Regions from separate parts of the Homo sapiens genome. Here all the other regions are linked to region 6. The links are contacts of gene promoters, found by promoter capture Hi-C in blood cells and fetal thymus (Javierre and others, 2016). All regions are on one chromosome and are shown on one strand. Each heading gives the region's core, a stretch centred on a gene start or on the middle of the fragment in contact. The rest is flanking DNA. Distances are from core to core; before and after follow the strand shown.

The links. The method cuts DNA at HindIII sites, captures the fragments that hold promoters and counts their contacts. A CHiCAGO score of 5 or more calls a contact.
Region 1: a fragment that was not itself captured here is called in contact with the fragment with the promoter of MRFAP1 in region 6 in 2 of 17 cell types (neutrophils and naive CD8 T cells); the score reaches 7.9 in neutrophils.
Region 2: a fragment that was not itself captured here is called in contact with the fragment with the promoter of MRFAP1 in region 6 in 2 of 17 cell types (neutrophils and naive CD8 T cells); the score reaches 9.2 in neutrophils.
Region 3: a contact is called between a fragment that was not itself captured here and the fragment with the promoter of MRFAP1 in region 6, in 2 of 17 cell types (non-activated CD4 T cells and naive CD8 T cells). The highest score is 8.2, in non-activated CD4 T cells.
Region 4: a contact is called between a fragment that was not itself captured here and the fragment with the promoter of MRFAP1 in region 6, in 3 of 17 cell types (non-activated CD4 T cells, neutrophils and naive CD8 T cells). The highest score is 5.3, in non-activated CD4 T cells.
Region 5: a fragment that was not itself captured here is called in contact with the fragment with the promoter of MRFAP1 in region 6 in 1 of 17 cell types (naive CD8 T cells); the score reaches 5.1 in naive CD8 T cells.

What each region holds. Positions count from the first base shown.
Region 1 is chr4:6,819,225-6,822,373 of GRCh38, forward strand. The region is part of intron 2 of KIAA0232; the gene reads left to right. Among named protein-coding and RNA genes, the nearest start is that of KIAA0232, 38 kb to the left of the region's middle. The HindIII fragment of the contact is 6,164 bases long and covers 1-3,149 here.
Region 2 is chr4:6,800,773-6,803,583 of GRCh38, forward strand. All of the region lies in intron 1 of KIAA0232, which reads left to right. Among named protein-coding and RNA genes, the nearest start is that of KIAA0232, 19 kb to the left of the region's middle. The HindIII fragment of the contact is 7,315 bases long and covers 1-2,811 here.
Region 3 is chr4:6,864,014-6,866,949 of GRCh38, forward strand. It overlaps KIAA0232, which reads left to right. Exons shown (of 10, transcript NM_014743.3): 7 at 1-170. Among named protein-coding and RNA genes, the nearest start is that of TBC1D14, 44 kb to the right of the region's middle. The HindIII fragment of the contact is 2,026 bases long and covers 385-2,410 here.
Region 4 is chr4:6,769,291-6,772,455 of GRCh38, forward strand. No RefSeq gene overlaps it. Among named protein-coding and RNA genes, the nearest start is that of KIAA0232, 12 kb to the right of the region's middle. The HindIII fragment of the contact is 1,922 bases long and covers 490-2,411 here.
Region 5 is chr4:6,886,693-6,889,712 of GRCh38, forward strand. No RefSeq gene overlaps it. Among named protein-coding and RNA genes, the nearest start is that of TBC1D14, 22 kb to the right of the region's middle. The HindIII fragment of the contact is 6,064 bases long and covers 1-3,020 here.
Region 6 is chr4:6,639,193-6,642,230 of GRCh38, forward strand. MRFAP1 (Morf4 family associated protein 1) reads left to right here and starts at 1,493. Exons shown (of 2, transcript NM_033296.3): 1 at 1,493-2,066; 2 at 2,538-3,038. The coding sequence starts at 1,671. The coding sequence ends at 2,054. It overlaps LOC124900653 (a long non-coding RNA gene), which reads right to left and starts at 1,429. Exons shown (of 2, transcript XR_007058007.1): 1 at 1,328-1,429. RefSeq lists an enhancer at 1-487 and a silencer at 2,461-2,530. The HindIII fragment of the contact is 23,430 bases long and covers 1-3,038 here.

The DNA of each region.
Region 1 (3,149 bases), core at 247-2,746, 180 kb after region 6:
ATCTAATTAAGCCAAAGAGCTTATGTACAGCAAAAGAAATTATCAATAGAGTAAACGGTGTACAGTATTAATAGATACACCATTTCATATACAGACCACCTACAGAATAGGAGAAAATATTTGCAAACTGTGCATCTGACACAGGTCCAATATCCAGAATCTATTGGAAACTTAAACAGTTCAACAAGAAAAAAAAGACCCCACTAAAAAGTGGGCAAAAGACATGAACAGACAATTTTCAAAAGAAGACATACAAGCAGCCAACAAATGTATAAAAAAAGTTCCACATCGCTGATTATCAGAGAAATGCAAATCAAAACCACAATGAGTTAACATCTCACAACAGTCAGAATGGCTGTCATTAGAAGTTAAAAAACAGATGCTAATGAGGCTGCAGAGAAAAGGGAACACTCATGCACTGTTGGTGGGAATCTAAATTAGTTCAGCCACTGTGGAAAGCAGTTTGGAGATTTCTCAAAGAACTTAAAACAGAACTACCATTTGACCCAGCAATCCCATTACTAGCTACATCTCAGAAAAGAAATTATTCTACCAAAAAGACACATGTACTCATATGTTCATCACGGCACTATTCACACTAGCAAAGATACGGAATCAACCTAGGTGCCCATCAACAGTGGATTGCATAAATAAAATGTGGTACATATATACCATGGAATACTATGCAGCCATTAAAAAAAGAATGAAACCATGTCCTTTGCAGCAACGTGGATGCAGCTGGAGGATAATATCCTAAGTGAATTAACGTAGGAACAGAAAATAAAATACTGTGTGTTCTCACTTAGAAGTGGGAGTTAAACATCAGTTACTTGTGGATGTAAAGGTGACAGCACTAAACACTGAAGACTGCTATAGTGATGAGGGAGGGAGGCAGTAGGTGTTGAAAAAACTAACTGTTGGGTACTGTACTCAGTACCTGGGCAATGGAATAATTCATACCCCAAACCTCAGCATCATGCAACATACCCAGGTAACAAACTTGCACACGTACCCCCTGAATCTAAAATAAAAGTTAAAAAGAAAAAAGAAGACGCCACATCTTACTTGGGTAGAGCAGGTAGAGAAGTTTGGGGAAAAGCTGGCATGTTTAGGCTACATCTACCAGATTGACATTTAGGAATATAAATTTGAATTCTGTGGAAAAAATTAAGTGGAGGGTTTGTTTTTTAATAGGCAGCATATAATTAGGTGTTGCTGTTTTAAAATTCAGTGTATCTCTGCCTTTTAATTGATGTGTTTAGGTCATTTACATTCATTATTATTAACAGCTATGTTATTAGAATTTGTCTTCAAATGATAAACCATTTTCATACAAGAACTTAATAATAGTATTCTTACATTTCCCCACTCCTGGCCTTTATCCTACTGTTGGCTTATGTTTTACTTATATGTATGTTATTAAATAAAAGCTCTACAATGTTTTGTATTATTTTTGTTTAAGCAATTGTCTTTTAAAGATATTTAAATAATAAGACAAATGTTGTTATTTCTGGTGCTCTTTGTTCCCTTGAATGGATCCACATTTTGTTCTGTCTTAGTCTGTTTTCTGTTGCTATAACAGAATGACACAGATTAGGTATTTATAAAGAATAGTTTATTTGGCTCACAGTTCCTGGAGGCTGGGAAGTCCAAAAGCATGGCACTGGCCTGTAGTGAGGGTCATGCCATGGCAGAAAGCATCACATGATGGGGAGGGTAAGAGGAGGCGAGAGTGCTTGAGACAGAAATGGGGCTGAACTTATCCTTTTATCAGGAGCCCACTCCTGTGACATGAAGTTGGAGCCCTCATGACCTAATCACCTCTTAAAGGTCTTACCTCTTAATACCATCACAATGGCAGTTAAATTTCAACATGAGGCTTGGAGGTGATATTTAAATCCATAGCATTTGCTGGCGATAAATTCCTTCAGTTTTTGCATATCAGAGAAAGCATTTGTTTCACTTTCATTTTGAAAGTTTTTAATTTTTTGCTTTTTATTTTTATTTTTTATTTCCATAGGTTTTTGGGGAACAGGTGATAGTTACATGAGTAAGTCCTTTAGTGGTGATTTCTGAGATTTTGGTGCACCCATCACCTGAGCGGCATACACTCTACCCAGTTTGTAGTCTTTTTATCTCTTACCCGTCTCCCACCCTTTCCCCCTGAATTTCCAAAGTCCACTGGTATCATTCTTATGCCTTTGCATCCTCATAGCTTAGCTCCCGCTTGTGAGTGAAAACATACAGTGTTTGGTTTTCTATTCCTATATTACTTCACTTAGAATAATGGTCTCTGGTTCCATCAGGGTCACTGCAAATGCCATTACTTCGTTCCTTTTTGTGGCTGAGTAGTAGTCCATGGTGTATATATATACACACATATATACACATATCTATATATATATACGTGTATATAGATACGTGTATATACGTGTATGTGTATACATATATACATGTATATATGTGTGTGTGTGTGTGTGTATATATATATATGTATATACATATACCACAATTTCTTTATCCCCTCATTGATTGATGGGCATTTGGGCTGGTACCATATTTTTGCAATAGCAAATTGTGCTGCTATAAATACGAACGAGTGTGCAAGTATCTTTTTGAAAGACACTTTCAATGAGTATAGAATTCTAGGTTGACAGTTTTTTTTTCTTTTAGTACTTTAAAGTTTTTGCTCCATTATCTGCTCACTTGCATTGTTTCCAGCAAGAAAACTGAGGTCATACTTATCTTTTGTTTGCTATATTTAATGTTTCTTTTTTCTCTGAGTGCTTTAAAATTTTTCTGTTTATGACAAGTTTGAGTAATTTTATTATAGTGTTCTAGGGGTCGTTTTCTTCATATTTCTTGCACGTCTCCAGAATTGAGTGTGTTATTTAATTGACAATATCTCTGGCATCCTGAGATCCAAATGTTAAATGAATTATGGAAAATGTTTTGAAAGTCAGTTGGAAAAGTTCAGCTGGTGAAAGTTACAGAAAATCTTCGCTTTAATTTATCTAGTTGTCATAATTCAGAAAAGATAATATAGTAGAGAGGATTTTAAAAGTAGCAAAACATGTATTAGTGACACATTAATTTAGTAACTTAGTCCTGCGGTGAACTTAAAACTGTTGTCTTTATATTTAATGTGT
Region 2 (2,811 bases), core at 135-2,634, 160 kb after region 6:
TTTGGTAACATTTTATATAGTTTTGGGTCACATAGAAAATGCAGAGCCAGGTTGGCTCCTGGGCTCATCACTCTGAAAGGTTATGTGAGGGGGGTGATACGAAGAGCCCAGTTAGGAAGGGCAGGCAGGTTCTTAAGGGTTTGTTCAGTTCAGCAGTGCTTTTCCAACAGCTTATTAACATGGAATGTAGTGGGAATACAAATATAAATATAGACAGAGTTCTTGATAATTTGGTCATAGGATAATTTGTAATTTTCTTAGTTTGTAGGAAATTAAGTTCAGCAGCTGGGTATTGAACCAGGATGTGGAATTGTCAGCATTTCCCCAAATCTTGATGTGTTAGACCTGTTGTGTCCAGTAGAACTTTGTTTGATAATGGAAATGTTCACTGTCTTTTCTATTCAGTATCCACTGGCTACATGGGGCTATTAACACTGGAAATGTGGCTTGTGCCATTAAAGAACTGAATTTTCAATTTTATTTAATTTTAATTAATTAAAATGTAAATAGCCACTAGTGGCTACCATATTCATTGGACAATGCAGTTCTAGAGATTCATTTCACCTTTGTTCAGTTCACCTTTGTTCAAAGAATAAGTGGATGGTGGTTATAGGAGACTGAAAAGATGCCACTAGGCCAGGCATGGTGGCTCATGCCTGTAATCCTGGCCCTTTGGGAGGCTGAGGTGGGAGGATTGCTTGAGCCTAGGAGTTCGTGACCAGCCTGAGCAATGTAGTGCGACCCTATCTCTACCAAAGAAAAAAGCTGGACTTGATGGCCACACACTTGTCGTCTTAGCTACTCTGGAGGCTGAGGTGGGAGGATTGCTTGAGCCCAGGAATTCCAAGCTGCAGCGAACTATGATTGCTCCACTGCACTCCAGACTGGGTGACAGGACGAAAAGGAAAAAAAAAAAAGAGAAAGGTGCTATTAAGTGGCTTACAGTGCTTAGGACTTTAATTAGCATATCCATGTTTTTAAATGTAGAACATAGGGTTTTCATAAAGTAGAAACGTGGATTCTGGTTTATTTGCAGTACAAAGAAAAATACAGGGCCTGCGAGGATGATCATTTTGTGCATGTGCTGAAATCATACTCTTTTAGCTTTAGAAGTTATTTGTATACATGCCACCATTACCTTCCAGATAAAGTTTGTATCCCTCACTGTGTATTGCACATAATAAATACCCACTAAATGGTGGTGGGTATTTATTTATGCAATAAAGGGGCCCTTGATCCTGATAGGGCTGTTAGTTCCTTCATGAGTGTCACAAGTTGGGTTCTCTGGGAAGGCGGGTACTTTGGGAAGCAAATGCAGACAATTTAGCATGCAGAATGTTGATTAGGGCTTGCTCGTAGGGTCCAGACTCAGGGAATGGAGAAGTTGAACTACCTTGCATGCCCAATTATAGCATAGCCTTGGCCAACCCCATTAGAATAGCCCGTGGGAGCTGTCCCGGCTTGGGCTGGGTAGCCAGGCCTGTACGCTCTCTGAGTCAGTCAGGATGACTTGCCTGGAAGAGGGCAAGATGTCGGGTGAGGCAGTTCTCTGTAGCCACAGCAGTACTTGAAGGGGCTGACGGAGCACTCCCAGCAGCTGGGGCTGCATGGCCTTCAGTTGAGGGTCTGGGTTGTACATCACAGCGTGCCATGGTTGGACAATATTTTTCTTAGAAATTTTTTGATTGATTTCATTTGACTCATTGGTTGGCGTTCTGGAGAAATATGGGGTAAGTCTCTTTCTCTTTCTCTGTGACTCTTCTCAACCCCCCCCAACCCACCAGCCCCCTTACTAAATAACTATGTGTGTGTGTGTCTTATGTACGAACAGAGTTACAGTGCACAATTAACCTTTTCTTCTGATGGAAGTTGACTCCAACCAGAATGCTTCATCTTCACGTCTTCCCCAAGGACATAAAGACAGAAAGGGGATTTTGCTATAACATAGAATACAGAGTGGTGATTCAGGTATAGAGCAAGGTGTGGTATGTTGGTGATGTAAGGAGCACAGAGGAATGAAATTAATTGGTGTGAGGTTCTCTCAAGGAAGGAAAAAATGACAGAAGGTTGAAAGAAGAGTAATAGTCGAATATGAGTGCATATAGCTGGGGGCAGTGGCTCATGCTTGTAATCCCAACTCTTTAGGTGGCTGAGATGGAAGGATCACTTGAGGTCAAGAGTTCAGGACCAGCCTAGGCAACATACTGGGCATACTTGAGCAACATACTCTGTCTTGACCAAAAAAAAAAAAAAAAAAAAAAGCCAGGTTTGGTGGGTGCATGCTTGTGGTCCCTGCTACTGTGGAAGGTGAGGTGGGAGGATCACTTGAGCCCAGGAGTTCTAGGCTGTAGTAAGCTATGATTGTACCACTGCACCTCCAGCCTGGATGACAGAAGAATACTTTACCTCTTGAAAGAAATTAAAATGAGTGCATATATATATATATATATATATATGGACTTTCTCATATAAATTGAAGCCCAGCTCCCTTAAGTTCAAATGGAAATATTCCATGAGTAGTTGGAAATATAGATTGAGAAGACAAGGTAAGAGAAAGATTTGTAGGGGGTGACTTTTGATAAATTACACAAATCTTTGACATTATCAAACATGAATGCCAAACATTGAAACATGAATGTTCAAGGGTCTGTCACACAGCTCTCAAGTTATCTGGTTACTGGTAGTTAGGTAATAGTTGGAAGATTCCAGTAGTTACGTAGTTACTGGTAGTTAGAAAATACTTGAAGGATTCATTTGGATAAGATTACCCTGATTAAAATTTCAAGTATAGTAATTTCTTTCTAGAGTTGT
Region 3 (2,936 bases), core at 148-2,647, 220 kb after region 6:
TGGAATGTAGCATGAATGAATCCCTGGAAATAGATTTAGAAAGCTCAGAAGCAAATTGTAAAATAATGGCACAATGCGAGGAAGAAATTAATAATTTTTGTGGTTGCAAAGCAGGTTGTCAGTTTCCTGCTTATGAAGATAATCCAGTTTCTTCGGGACAGCTGGAAGAGGTATGTGTCTGCGTGTTGGTATTTGACAAAAGGATTTGATCAGAGTTTAACCCAAGAACAGACATGCCAGTCAATGAAAGATAGGGTTAAATTATTGGGAAATTAGCTTAAATGTCTTAAAACTTAAATTGTTCTAATTTTACATGTAAGGACTTAAAATGGATTTGATATTTATGAATTTGAACTAGACAGTAGAGTTTTTCTGGAGAGAAAAAGCTTTTAAAAATCACAGGATGTAAGATTCCTATGTGTTGTCTTAAGATGCATGTTATTGGCCGGGTGCAGTGGCTCACGCCTGTAATCCCAGCACTTTGGGAGGCCGAAGTGGGTAGATCATTTGAGGTCAGGAGTTCAAGACCAGCTTGGCCAACATGGTGAGACCCCGTCTCTACTAAAAATACAAAAATTACCCAGGCGTGGTGGCAGGCACCTGTAATCCCAGCTCCTTGGGAGGCTGAGGCAGGAGAATCACTTGAACCCGAGAGGCAAAGGTTGCAGTGAGCCGAGATCGTGTTCTGTACTCCAGCCTGGGTGACAGGGTGAGACTCCATCTCAAAAAAAAAAAAAAAAAAAAAATACATGTATTATGCTTAAAGCAAAAACCTAACATGAAAGTGTTCTAACATTCAAAGTTGATGAATCAGGAAGTGGCTGCTATTAAAGTGTAGCAAACCTGTCTAACTGACTCTTAGAAGTTGATCACTTTATCAAAACTTGTGTTTTACATATAAAACAAATTATATCTCTATGGAGTTCTCAAAAATACATTGTGGTACATGTAGAAATTCACCCACAGCCCAAATGCAACAAAATTTCTTCTACAGAACCTATACAGATGTATCTTGCTTTATACAAAGTACATATTCCAGAAGCTGTGTGGATTATATGTTAAGGCTATGGAATGAGGATCACATTAAGTTGTGTTAATGAGAGTCATTGTACCTCTCCACTGTATGCCCAAGAAATGGCTTAAGGTTAAACTGATTGTACAAGAAATAACACTTAAGACAATAAACTGTTTCACAAAAAAAGCACAGCAGTCTGCCCATTTTTCCACTGTTTTCGATATGTGAGTGCCTAGCCTTTCTCCAGAAATAGTTTATTTAATTTTGTTTTTGTTTTTGTTTTGTTTTGGGGACAGAGTCTCGCTCTGTCGCCCAGGCTTGAGTGCAGTGGTGCGATCTCAGCTCACTGCAACCTCCACCTCCCAGGTTCAAGTGATTCTCCTGCCTCAGCCTCCCAAGTAGCTGGGATTAAAGGCATGCGCCACCACGCCCGGCTAATTATTTGTATTTTTAGTAGAGACGGGGTTTTACCAGGTTGGCCAGGCTGGTCTTGAACTCCTAACTTCAAGTGATCCACCTGCCTTGGCCTCCCAAAGTGTTGGGATTACAGGCGTGAGCCACCGCGTCCGGCCCAGCTTATTGAAAAAAAGAGATGGAGGTGTTTAGAAGCCATGCCACCTGTGGCCAGAGAGCAGATGAGTGTTGCACTTCCTCCCAACTGTCCTGCACACCCTACCCACCATTGCACATCCAAATCCTACCCATACCATGAGACTTATTTCATATACCACCTCCTTCACTGACACTTTCCCTAATTCCCTCTCTCCCCTGCTCCAGCCCCACTCTGCATCAGAATTAATTTTGCCCCTCTCTTAATTTTCATGCACTTTATGCCTCTTTTTGATTGCATTTTTCATTTCTCATGAGTTATTTATATCCTGGACTATAAGCTCCTTGTGGCTGTGGACCATGCCTTACTTATTTGTCGCATCAGAGTGCCCAGGTGTGGGACTGCTTGCCTGTGATTCTAGGAAGCCCCCAGGCGACTTGAGAGGCACTGCTCTAATCAGCTACCTAGAGACCCGTAGAGGATGAATTTAATCCCATTGAAACACTGCTAAGAAAAAACCCAATAATATTGTTAGCCTTTATCTGTTTGTTTATTGCCCCATTTTTCATCCTTAAATATTCCTTTATGTACTTTGTATTTCACCTGGTTCCAGATTGGGAAGAAAGAAAAAGAGGAAAGAAGCAAGATTCTACATCATACCACTACCATATTCCTTCGCTTTCTAGTATGTTGATGTATTTATGTGTTATCAGAATTCCGGGTTTCCTTGAAAGGTCTTAGCTGCCAAAAAAATTCCCAGAGGACATTTTGGGATTGTCTGATAGTTTAGATGTTGTCAGCACTGCTCTCTCGGCAGCATTGTTATACTTTAGAAGCCAGGTTGAAGCTTACTTCATAGATTCATCTGAGATGTGCAGGAGGCTGAGTGACCTGAAGGGACAGTTTGGGGCCAGCCTGGGACTAGAACCTGTATCTTTCTGTTCTGTCACATTGCTTGGTCAGTCTGAAAGGTGCTTTTAAGAGGATGTGCTTCCGGCCCTTTTCCTGAGTCAGTACAGTCTTTTCAGGAAGCAATCTGGGAGGCCTGTTTAAAGATCAGTAGAACCCCATCTGTTTCAGACTTAGATGATGAAAATGTAGGATTTCCGATAGAACTGGTGTCTAAGAGCATGAAAATAATATGATTATTTTCAAAAGTTTAGTTCAATTCAGCAAACATTTAGTGAGTACCTGTTTACATGCCTGTTGCTAAAGTAGGTGTCCTGGATGAATAAGACTTTGTCCTTGCCCATACAGAATTCAGCGTAGTGAAGATGACCAACTTGTACCATGTTACTTATTTTAACTGAAATAGGTAATTTATTCATATGGTTCAAATTCAGAAGTTACAAGTGTATGTGTACATACACA
Region 4 (3,165 bases), core at 201-2,700, 130 kb after region 6:
CAGGATGGGGCCCATACCTGGGTGCAGCTGCGGTTGTGGGGATGCCCCTTCTGAGCAGCTGCTGCCTCTGTGTGCTCCCCTTCCTCTCCCCACCCCCACTCTCTTCCCAGGTCTCCCTCTGCTTACTACCCAGCATGGGCAAAAGCAGCTGCACCCAGTATGGACCAATAGGGGCACACCCATTTCGAGGCACTAAATGTGGTGCTGATAACAGAGTCCCCAGGCCTGGCTTGGCCCAAGGATGGAGCACCCCAACACCCCAGCTGTCTCAGGGGCCCACTGCTCAGCCTGGCTCACTCCCCGAGGGTGGGTGGTTTCTAAGTGCAGCTGGTGGGCTTGTGTGTGATGGTGGACGGATCCTGGAGTTTAGCAGGGTGACTGTGGCCAAGCTGTTTCTCTCTGGGTCTGTTCCTTAGTGTTATTGATGTTGTTGACAGCTGACCGGTCCTGCACCGTACTAATCATTTTACATGGAGAAGCTCCATGTAAAGCTTCTAGGTTGTAATTCTCATCACAACCCCGTGAGGTAGTTCATATTATCACCTCCATTTTACAGATAAGGAAACTGAGGACCAGAGAGCTCAAACTGATGTGCCTTAGGTCACACAGCTAGTGATCAATTGAGCCAGGCCTTGAACCCAGACAGTCTGGCTCCAGGACAAGCCCGCACAATATCTATACAGAAACAGGGCCTGGTGCATTTTAGGGCTGCTGTGATTTTGTCCTTATCTGCAGGTGCTTTTACCTCTGATTTCATTCGCCCTATGACCTGTATGGTAGGTTTTATTACCTCGGTTTTATCACACTTTCATCCTCCTCCAGGGTAGAATCAGCTTACAGATGAGGTAACAGGCTCAGAGGGGTTAAGCAACTTCTCAGGTGTCCCACAGCTGGTACGTGTGACAACTCGAATTCAAAGAAGTCTCCTGACTCTCACTGCGGAGCCTCCCATTCAAGAGGGACCTCAAGGTGTCACAGAATTTAGACATACTGAACGTCCTTACTTTATGAGTCCAGATTCAAATCAGTAATAACGCAATGTCAGAGGAGTTGAAGAATTCTTTCATGTATTTGTCCATCCTTGTTCCACACCTTGTCCTAGGATCCTTGGGGTTGCAGTGGTGGGGATGGAACCATAGAGATGCACAAGCCATAGATTTAGGAACTGGAATTTCAGCAATGCTTTCGGGTCTTCTGACAAGGTGCAGGCAGGCCACCTTTCTTGTATGGCAGGGCAGGACAGGGCTGGCCTGTGTTCCAGTTCTGGCTGTGTCACTCCCATGCTGTGTGACTTAGGACAAGGCTCTGCTCTTTCTGTACATTGGGTCACCAAGCAGGGATGAGCTGCCTGGTGTGGTGACTCCAGGTGGCTCCAGGAGGAAGGCAGGGGCCCTCTCATGTGAGTAGCCACATTCCTCCCTATGGCTTGTCCACAAAATAAGGGGACCTCACGGAGACAGCTCTGTGCACCTGTCATGCTGTATCGTTGGAGGGATTGGAGCAAGGCTGCAGCTTCCTTGGGGTTGGATCATCACAGGGGCCATAGTCATGAAGCCGATTGGCTGTGAACTTGGGCTGTGGGGTCCAAAGACCCAGGGTTAACTCCTGGCTCTGCCACCAGCCAGCTGTGTGACCTTAGCCAAGTTACTTAGCCTCTCTGAGCCTCAATTGCCTCATTCATAAAGTGGGGAACCTAGCACAGTGCCGAGCAGCTGCTCATTTACTGCAGGCACAGTCACTGAAGCTGAGAATTATGAAGCTGATGAGGATAGAGGGTCCAGCATAGAAAGTGCCACCTACAAGCACCTACTATGTGCCAAGACAAGGAGACAAGAAGGTGACGTGATTTACTTCTGGGCATACAGCAAGAACATGGCAAAGCTGGACCTGAGCATTGGGATGCATCAGCGCCTGCGGTGCCTGGTGGCTCTGAGCCTGTAGCAAGCTCCCTGGCTGAGGTCTGGGGCTGTGCCCTAGAGGAGGAGCCCCTACGGCCACTCCTGCTGGCCTGTGGCTGGGGCAGCATCAGCAGATGTCTTCAGTCCATCTGGCAGGTCTCACTTGCTTGGTCTGAGAACCTGCCCCACAGGCCTGAGCTCTGCAGGGAAAAGAAATAAAAATAGCCAGGTCTGAGAGGGCAGTGGCTGGGCCGTGGGCAGCAATGCGTGCCTTTCCCATGACTCCTGCTCTGCAGAGGAGAGTCCTTCCCTGAGCCGTCCTGTGTGCCAGGCCCTGGGCTGGGTGCCCGGGAAGCGAAGTTGTGGCAGGCAAAGCTGCTCCCCAGAGGAGCCCATAGCTTGGTGGGTAGAACATATTTGTCCAGTGCGGCACCTTGGGGTGGGGGCCCGAAAGGGCTAGCAGTGGAGCATTGCAAGAGAGACCCCCTCACCCACCTGGGGGAACACAAGGTAAGCTTCCAGAAAGAGGACACACTGGAGAAAACAGTTGTTAAGCAGAGTGGCGGGGGGCTTTCCAGGCAGTGGGACCAGCATTTGCAAAGGCAGAGAGGTGTGACAAGCATGTCCCATTGAGAGAAGTGTAAGTACCTGGGTACATCTGGAGGCTGGGGTGTCTATAGGGACAGGATGGAGGGTTGCGCTAGGAAAGCAGGGAGCCTGGGACTGTGGGGACGATGGGGAGCCAAGGGAGGTTATAAAGCAGGGGGTCACGATCTCTCCTTCTCAAGATCCATAGCCTTAATCCCATCAGCAAAGTCCCTTTTGCCAGGTAAGGTAACATAGTCGCTGGTTCCAGGGATTAGGAGGTACACTTCTTTGGGGGGTCATATTCTGCAGACCCTGTCTCTGTAATAAACTGCACTGAATCCTCGTCCAAAGGCTTCTAGGGACTCCAACTAAGACACCCCCAACCTTAATTCTGGTCCCTGGGCTCCCCGTCACAGGCCCCAGCACCAGATCCTTGGCTCAGCCCCTCCAAAAATCTTGGCAGGTCATTCTCTAAACAGGCGAGAGCTGGGTTCAAATCCTGCCTCTGCTGCTTACTTGATCTGTGACCTTGGGCAACTCACCGGTCTCTTTCAGAGCCTCAGTTTCCTCATCTGACAAAGGGGGTAAGGGGCCCAAGAGATTACTAAGCAGGTTAGAGGGTCAATAAGTGCCTGGCGCATAGTAGGTGCTCCAGAAACAAGAGCTATTGTCAGTTACC
Region 5 (3,020 bases), core at 194-2,693, 250 kb after region 6:
TGACTGCAGAGTCCATTTAACACTGAAACCTCCATCTCACAAAATCCCACTCATTAAGTTACGTATTGTCTCTGGGCACGGTGGCTCATGCCTGTTAACCCAGCACTTTGGGAGGCCAAGGTGGGCGGATCACCTGAGGTCAGGAGTTCCGAGACCAACCTGGCCAACATGGTGAAACCCCGTCTCTACTAAAACTACAAAAATTAGCCAGGCATAATGACAGGCGCCTGTAATCCCAGCTACTCCGGAGGCTGAGGCAGGAGAATCACTTGAACCCGGGAGGCAGAGGTTGTGGTGATCTGAGATCGCGCCACTGCACTCCAGCCTGGGTGACAGCAAGACTCCGTCTCAAAAAAAAAAGTTATGTATTGTCTGCGTACTTGCAGGGAGTCCTGCTGTGTCAGCCCCGGCTGTGTGTCCTTGGGCGAGTTACTCAGTCTCACACGTTGGTATCTTTAGATGTAAATGGAGATCATAACTGGACCTCTCTCCTAAGGGTTGGTTATAAACATAAAATAGTCCATCTGCATAAATACTAGAGTGCAAACTAAAAAGTACCTGAGACAGACCTCAATTAATTTAGAAGTGTATTTTGCCAAGACTCAGGACACACCTGAGAGAGAGAGGTCTGTGCCTTTCTCCAAAGATGATTTTGAGAGCTTCTGTATTTAAAGGGGAAAAGTGGGCTGGAGGGGGAAGGGGGAGGGTGTGGTCACACGACTGAATCCACAGGTTGCGAGAGAAAAGGAGCAGGTAGGGGAGTAGTCAATTAGGTATTTGACTTGTACGCACTAAATCCTCACTTTACGTAAGATACAGTGAACACAGAGTAGCTACCTGTGGAGATAGCTGGCCTTTTTGTTTTGTTTTGTTTTTTGGACAGGATCTCACGCTTACCCAGGATGGAGTGCAGTGGCGTGATCTCGATCTTGGCTCACTGCAGCCTCAGCCTCCCGAGTAGCTGGAACCACAGGTGTGCGCCACCACACCCAGCTAATTTTTGTATTTTTTGTAGACAGAGGTTTCACCATGCTGCCCAGGCTGGCCGTGAATTCTTGGGCTCAAGCAATGCTTCCACCTCGGCCTTTCAAAGTGCTGGGATTACAGTCGTGAAGCCACCGTGCCTGGCCTGTCTGGCCCTTTCGCTGTAGCTATCTGCTTAAGAACATAAGGAAACGCAGCTTCTTGCATGAGTCTATTCTCATCTTAAGTATTTCCTTTTAGCACAGTGAATTACGGTCCCACGTTTTTATTTTCCTTTCACACTGGACTCAAAAAAAGCAAAAACGGAAATGCAAAAGAGAAGTTGCAGCACTGAGTCCAGTAACTAAGGAGACAGTTGCCTCTTTGCAGGCGGTCTCTCACTCCCTGCCCTCCCCCCTGTGCTAGCAGAGCCCTTTAAGGGCCCTTGTTGGATCTGCAGCTCCAGGCCTGCCTAGTCAGCGGGGGTCAGCAGGGGTCAGCCCCACAGAGGCCATTCATCCTTGAGTGCTGACCACAGTGCTGTCACCATGATCTCGCCCTGAAGGGAGGTCACGCTATCCCTTCGACACAGGAGACCAACTCCTTTGGCTGTCCTTGGCTCCCAGTGGTGGCTGAACCAGAGGGCAGGGGCCAGGGCAGCAGCAGAGCCAAGTGTGCCCACTGGGGCCGAGGGCTCTGGCCACCACGTCCGTTGGGGAGGATGGTGGGGAGGGCCCTGGCCTTGCAGCGAGGGGGCAGGCACACGGTCTCCCACTTCCTATCACAGTCCAGGGGTGGGGAGGACCCCACCCTCTGGCCCTGTCACAGGTGGGGACAGTGACCCTCCCCTTCCAGGTGAGGCTACATTTTGAGGCTGAGGAGCACACGAAATGCTGGTCCTCAGCAGCGCTAAGGCCAGGAGCCCCTGATGTGTGAGTTTGTGTGGGGATGTTGCCCCTGAGGAGGGGTGATAGGAAGAGCCCCCTCCTCGTGAGCTGTGACCCTGAGCCAGTGGCTCTCTCAACTGTGAGATGGGGACCCTTCTCCCTCCCAGGGCTAGGGGAGGAGAACTGGCAGGCAAAGTGTCCGCTCATTTCCCTGAATAGAATACAGGCTCCCTCCTGAGGGTTTCTTGCCGTCCCCACGTGGTCCCTCCCAGCCCTCACAGTGGGCACCAGCAGTGCTGTCCCTCCTGCCCGGGGCCCTAGAGGGAGGAGGAAGACGTGAGTCCTGGGACTGGGCAGGGAGACAGGTCAGTCCCCGCTCCACGAGTTCCTGGAGCCCTCGGGTCTACCCTGCTCTGACCGAGCTGCTATGGGTAGAGCAGATCTACCTACGGCCCATCATCTCTGCGTCTTTCCCAGCAGTCTCAGGGTGTCTGTCACCGAGGCTGAGAACCCAAAGTTCTGGCCCAGGAGCACCCGGCAGAGGTGTGAGCCGGGGTCTGCCGATGGCTCATCTGATTCCCAAGTGCAGTGCTGCTTTCCCACTACCGTGGCCTCCACAAACCAGCGCTGTGCCCCCGCTACCGCCGCCACTCCCAGGGGGCCAAGTCCCACACCTTCAGACCCTCAAGACGGGAGCCGGAAGCCACCGCGGAACTAAAGTCTGGGAACCCCCCTTGGGGCGCTCAGGATTCACCCGCGCATGTGGCTGGGCACAGGCCTGTCCTCCAGGAGACTGCAGGCTGGGGACCCAAGGGTGACACCACAGGCTGCCCGCGCTTTGTGCGCAAAGCCAGGAGCGCTCTTCAGTGAAGTGGAGGCGGCACTGCGAGAACCCCGGACTGGGCGCTGCGACCGCAGACTCAAGGTCGCGGCGCCTCAGGGATCACTGGGGGCTTGAGTGAGCCCTGACCCTCTCCTGGGCCTTCCTATGCAGCGAGGGGCCGGACCCTGTGGTGCCTGAGGGCATTGTTTGTGGCTCTACTCTAGATCCGATTCCTGGTGATCACATATGTCAAACGTAACCACTTCGACCTCCCACAAACTGCCAGCTGCGAGCCCCTGATAACAGAAGTGGCCGCACTCGCCGGAGCTCCCTCCCTGGCCTGCCTG
Region 6 (3,038 bases), core at 243-2,742:
CCCAGGGCGTTAGGGCATTAAGGCCACAGAGCTAAGACCCCAAAGAGCCTAGGATCCAGTGGAAGGGCTCAGAGGCTCTGGACAGCGCCTTGCACCACACACTGAACATGGGTCTGCTGGGGCCTCAGGACGGAGCAGCCAGGCTCCACCTTGGGGTGTGGGGAGGCCGGTTTGGTGAAAAGACACCCAGACCCTTCTGACTGTCATCCAAGGAAGAAGGAAAACTACTCTTTAAAAAGGCAGAAAGGGCCAGGCGCACGGCTCATGCCTGTAATCTCTGCACTTTGGGAGGCCCGAAGTGGAAGGATCACTTGAGGCCAGAAGATCAAGGCTGCAGTGAGCCATGATCCCACCACTGGACTCCAGCCTGGGCGACAGACCGAGACCCTGCCTCAATAAAAAAAAAAAACTTTTTAAATAATAATAAGTAAATAAGGCCCGGCACGGTGGCTTACGCCTGTAATCCCAGCACTTTGGGAGGCCGAGGTGGATGGATCACGAGGTCAGGAGATCGAGACCATCCTGGCTAACACGGTGAAACCCCGTCTCTACTAAAAATACAAAAAATTAGCCGGGTGCGGTGGCAGGCGCCTGTAGTCCCAGCTACTCGCGAGGCTGAGGCAGGAGAATGGTGTGAACCCCGGAGGTGGAGTTTGCAGTGAGCCGAGATCGTGCCACTGCACTCCAGCCTGGGCGATAGAGCCAGACTCTGTCTCCAAAAAAAAAAAAAAAAAAAGTAAATAAAACGGCTGAGGGGACTCAGGTCCCCCTGCGTGAAAGGAAGGGGCTTTAAGCGTCCACCTGGGGTAGCTGCATTATCACGTAGGATCCTCCTCTTCTAGTGTGGAAGGCCCTTTTTAATTTTCATTTATATTTTATTTATTTATTTTGCGACGGAGTCTCACTCTGATGCACAGGCTGGAGAGCAGTGGCGCGATATGGGCTCACTGCAACCTCCGCCTCCCGTTTTCAAACGATTGTCTCAGCCTCCCAAGCAGCTGGGGTTACACGCGTGCAACACGACGCCCGGCTAATTTTTGTATTTTTGGTAGAGACGGGGTCTCGCCATGTCGGCCAGGCTGGTCTCGAATTCCTGACCTCAAGCCATCCACCCACCTCGCCTCCCAACGTGCTGAGATTACAGGCGTGAGCCACCGCGCCTGGGAAGTGCGGGAGGCCTTTTTAAAAAATGTAAACTCGCGTGCTCAAGAAGCCCTATCGGAGGGAAACACCCAGAAGAGGCCACCCTCCAAACACAGGGTAAAACAGGGGTGACGCACAGAGGTAACGGGAAAGCAGGAACGAGCGAGAGCGTGCGGTCCCGTACCTGCGCGTGCCTGCGTGCGCGTCCGTGCGGCCGCGACGCCGCCGCCGGTGCCTCTCTTTCTAGACGTGCGCGCGCCCGCAGCTCGCCCCCCTGACCGTAAAGAGGCCCGGCTGTGTCGTGAAAGGGGCCGCAACGCGCAGAGCGCTGGTTGACGGCCGGGACTCCATTTTGTTCGCCGTTACTCTGCGCGTAAGTCGCTTGTCCGTGGCTTCTCTGAGAAGAAAAGTTGAAAAAGGGTAAAAGTTTTCAGGAATATTCGGGCTCTCTATTGCTAAGCATAGCGAGTGTCGGTTTTCTCTCTCCAACAGACATCGCTATTGCGGTTCCGAGGCAGTGGGAAGAGATGCGGCCCCTGGACATCGTCGAGCTGGCGGAACCGGAGGAAGTGGAGGTGCTGGAGCCCGAGGAGGATTTCGAGCAGTTTCTGCTCCCGGTCATCAACGAGATGCGCGAGGACATCGCGTCGCTGACGCGCGAGCACGGGCGGGCGTACCTGCGGAACCGGAGCAAGCTGTGGGAGATGGACAATATGCTCATCCAGATCAAAACGCAGGTGGAGGCCTCGGAGGAGAGCGCCCTCAACCACCTCCAGAACCCGGGCGACGCGGCCGAGGGCCGGGCGGCCAAGAGGTGCGAGAAGGCCGAGGAGAAGGCCAAGGAGATTGCGAAGATGGCAGAGATGCTGGTGGAGCTGGTCCGGCGGATAGAGAAGAGCGAGTCGTCGTGAGCGCGGTCGGCGGTAAGTCGGGCACCCGCGCCAGGCCGAGGAGCGGCCCCAGCTTGGCCGCTCTTCGAGAGCGATGATTTCATCGAGATGCACCGGAATCGGGGGTGGGGCGGGAGAATAAAGGCGTGCTCGGGTCAGGGCCGATCTGGGCCCCGTCTTCGTGTTTTGTTTTTTGACGGTGGCGGCGTGGGATAATCAGAGTGGCCGGGTTTGGGCGTGATGCGTGTTCAGTGGAAGGGTCATAAATCTCAGAGTCGCCAAGGAAACAGAAACGGACAAGGTCCCGGGCCGTCCAGCAAGCGGGGGTGGAAATAGAGGATTTTCGGGGAAGACGTTGGACAAGTCAACGTTGCTAGAGACTGGAGTGAGTCAGGTGGTGGCCAGAAGAGGTGGCGTCCTGCACAGTGGCGTTCGTGAGGGTTTGGGGGTCGTTGTGCCTGGGATTAACCTCTCGATGATGAATTTCTTCCCATTGTGCTTTAGGTTTCCAGCCAATGGATTCTGGTCAACTGGTGGAGATTGGCTGACACCCTGGAGAAGCCGAAACCAGAGAGCCTTTTGTTTTCTCTTTTTTCCTGTCTATGCTCTGTCTCACTTAACACTACGTTTTCTGCTATGGTCTGTGGTTGATGACCTCAATATGAGTTTCGATTGTTAACGTGTTTTTGTTTGGGAAGTAATTTTGTTTGAAAATGCTCTCACATACAGGAATTAGGGCCTAGATTGTAAGCTCTTGCAGCAGTCACATTTGTTCCCGGGCTTTGGTGGTTATTTCTAAATTTTTGAGGTGCTTTGCTATTTCTTGTGTGACCTGATAGCTCCCTGGAACTTTGGGTCTGTGTGTGACACATGAGACTCACAGTTGGAGTTCTCCAGCTCTGGAGGTGCTGAAGGAGCTGCATTAATTCTGGAAGACGACTCCATGCAGCAACTACTGAAGAAAGGACCAGACTTCAACGGGGAGTGTGGATGGGCCGACCTGGC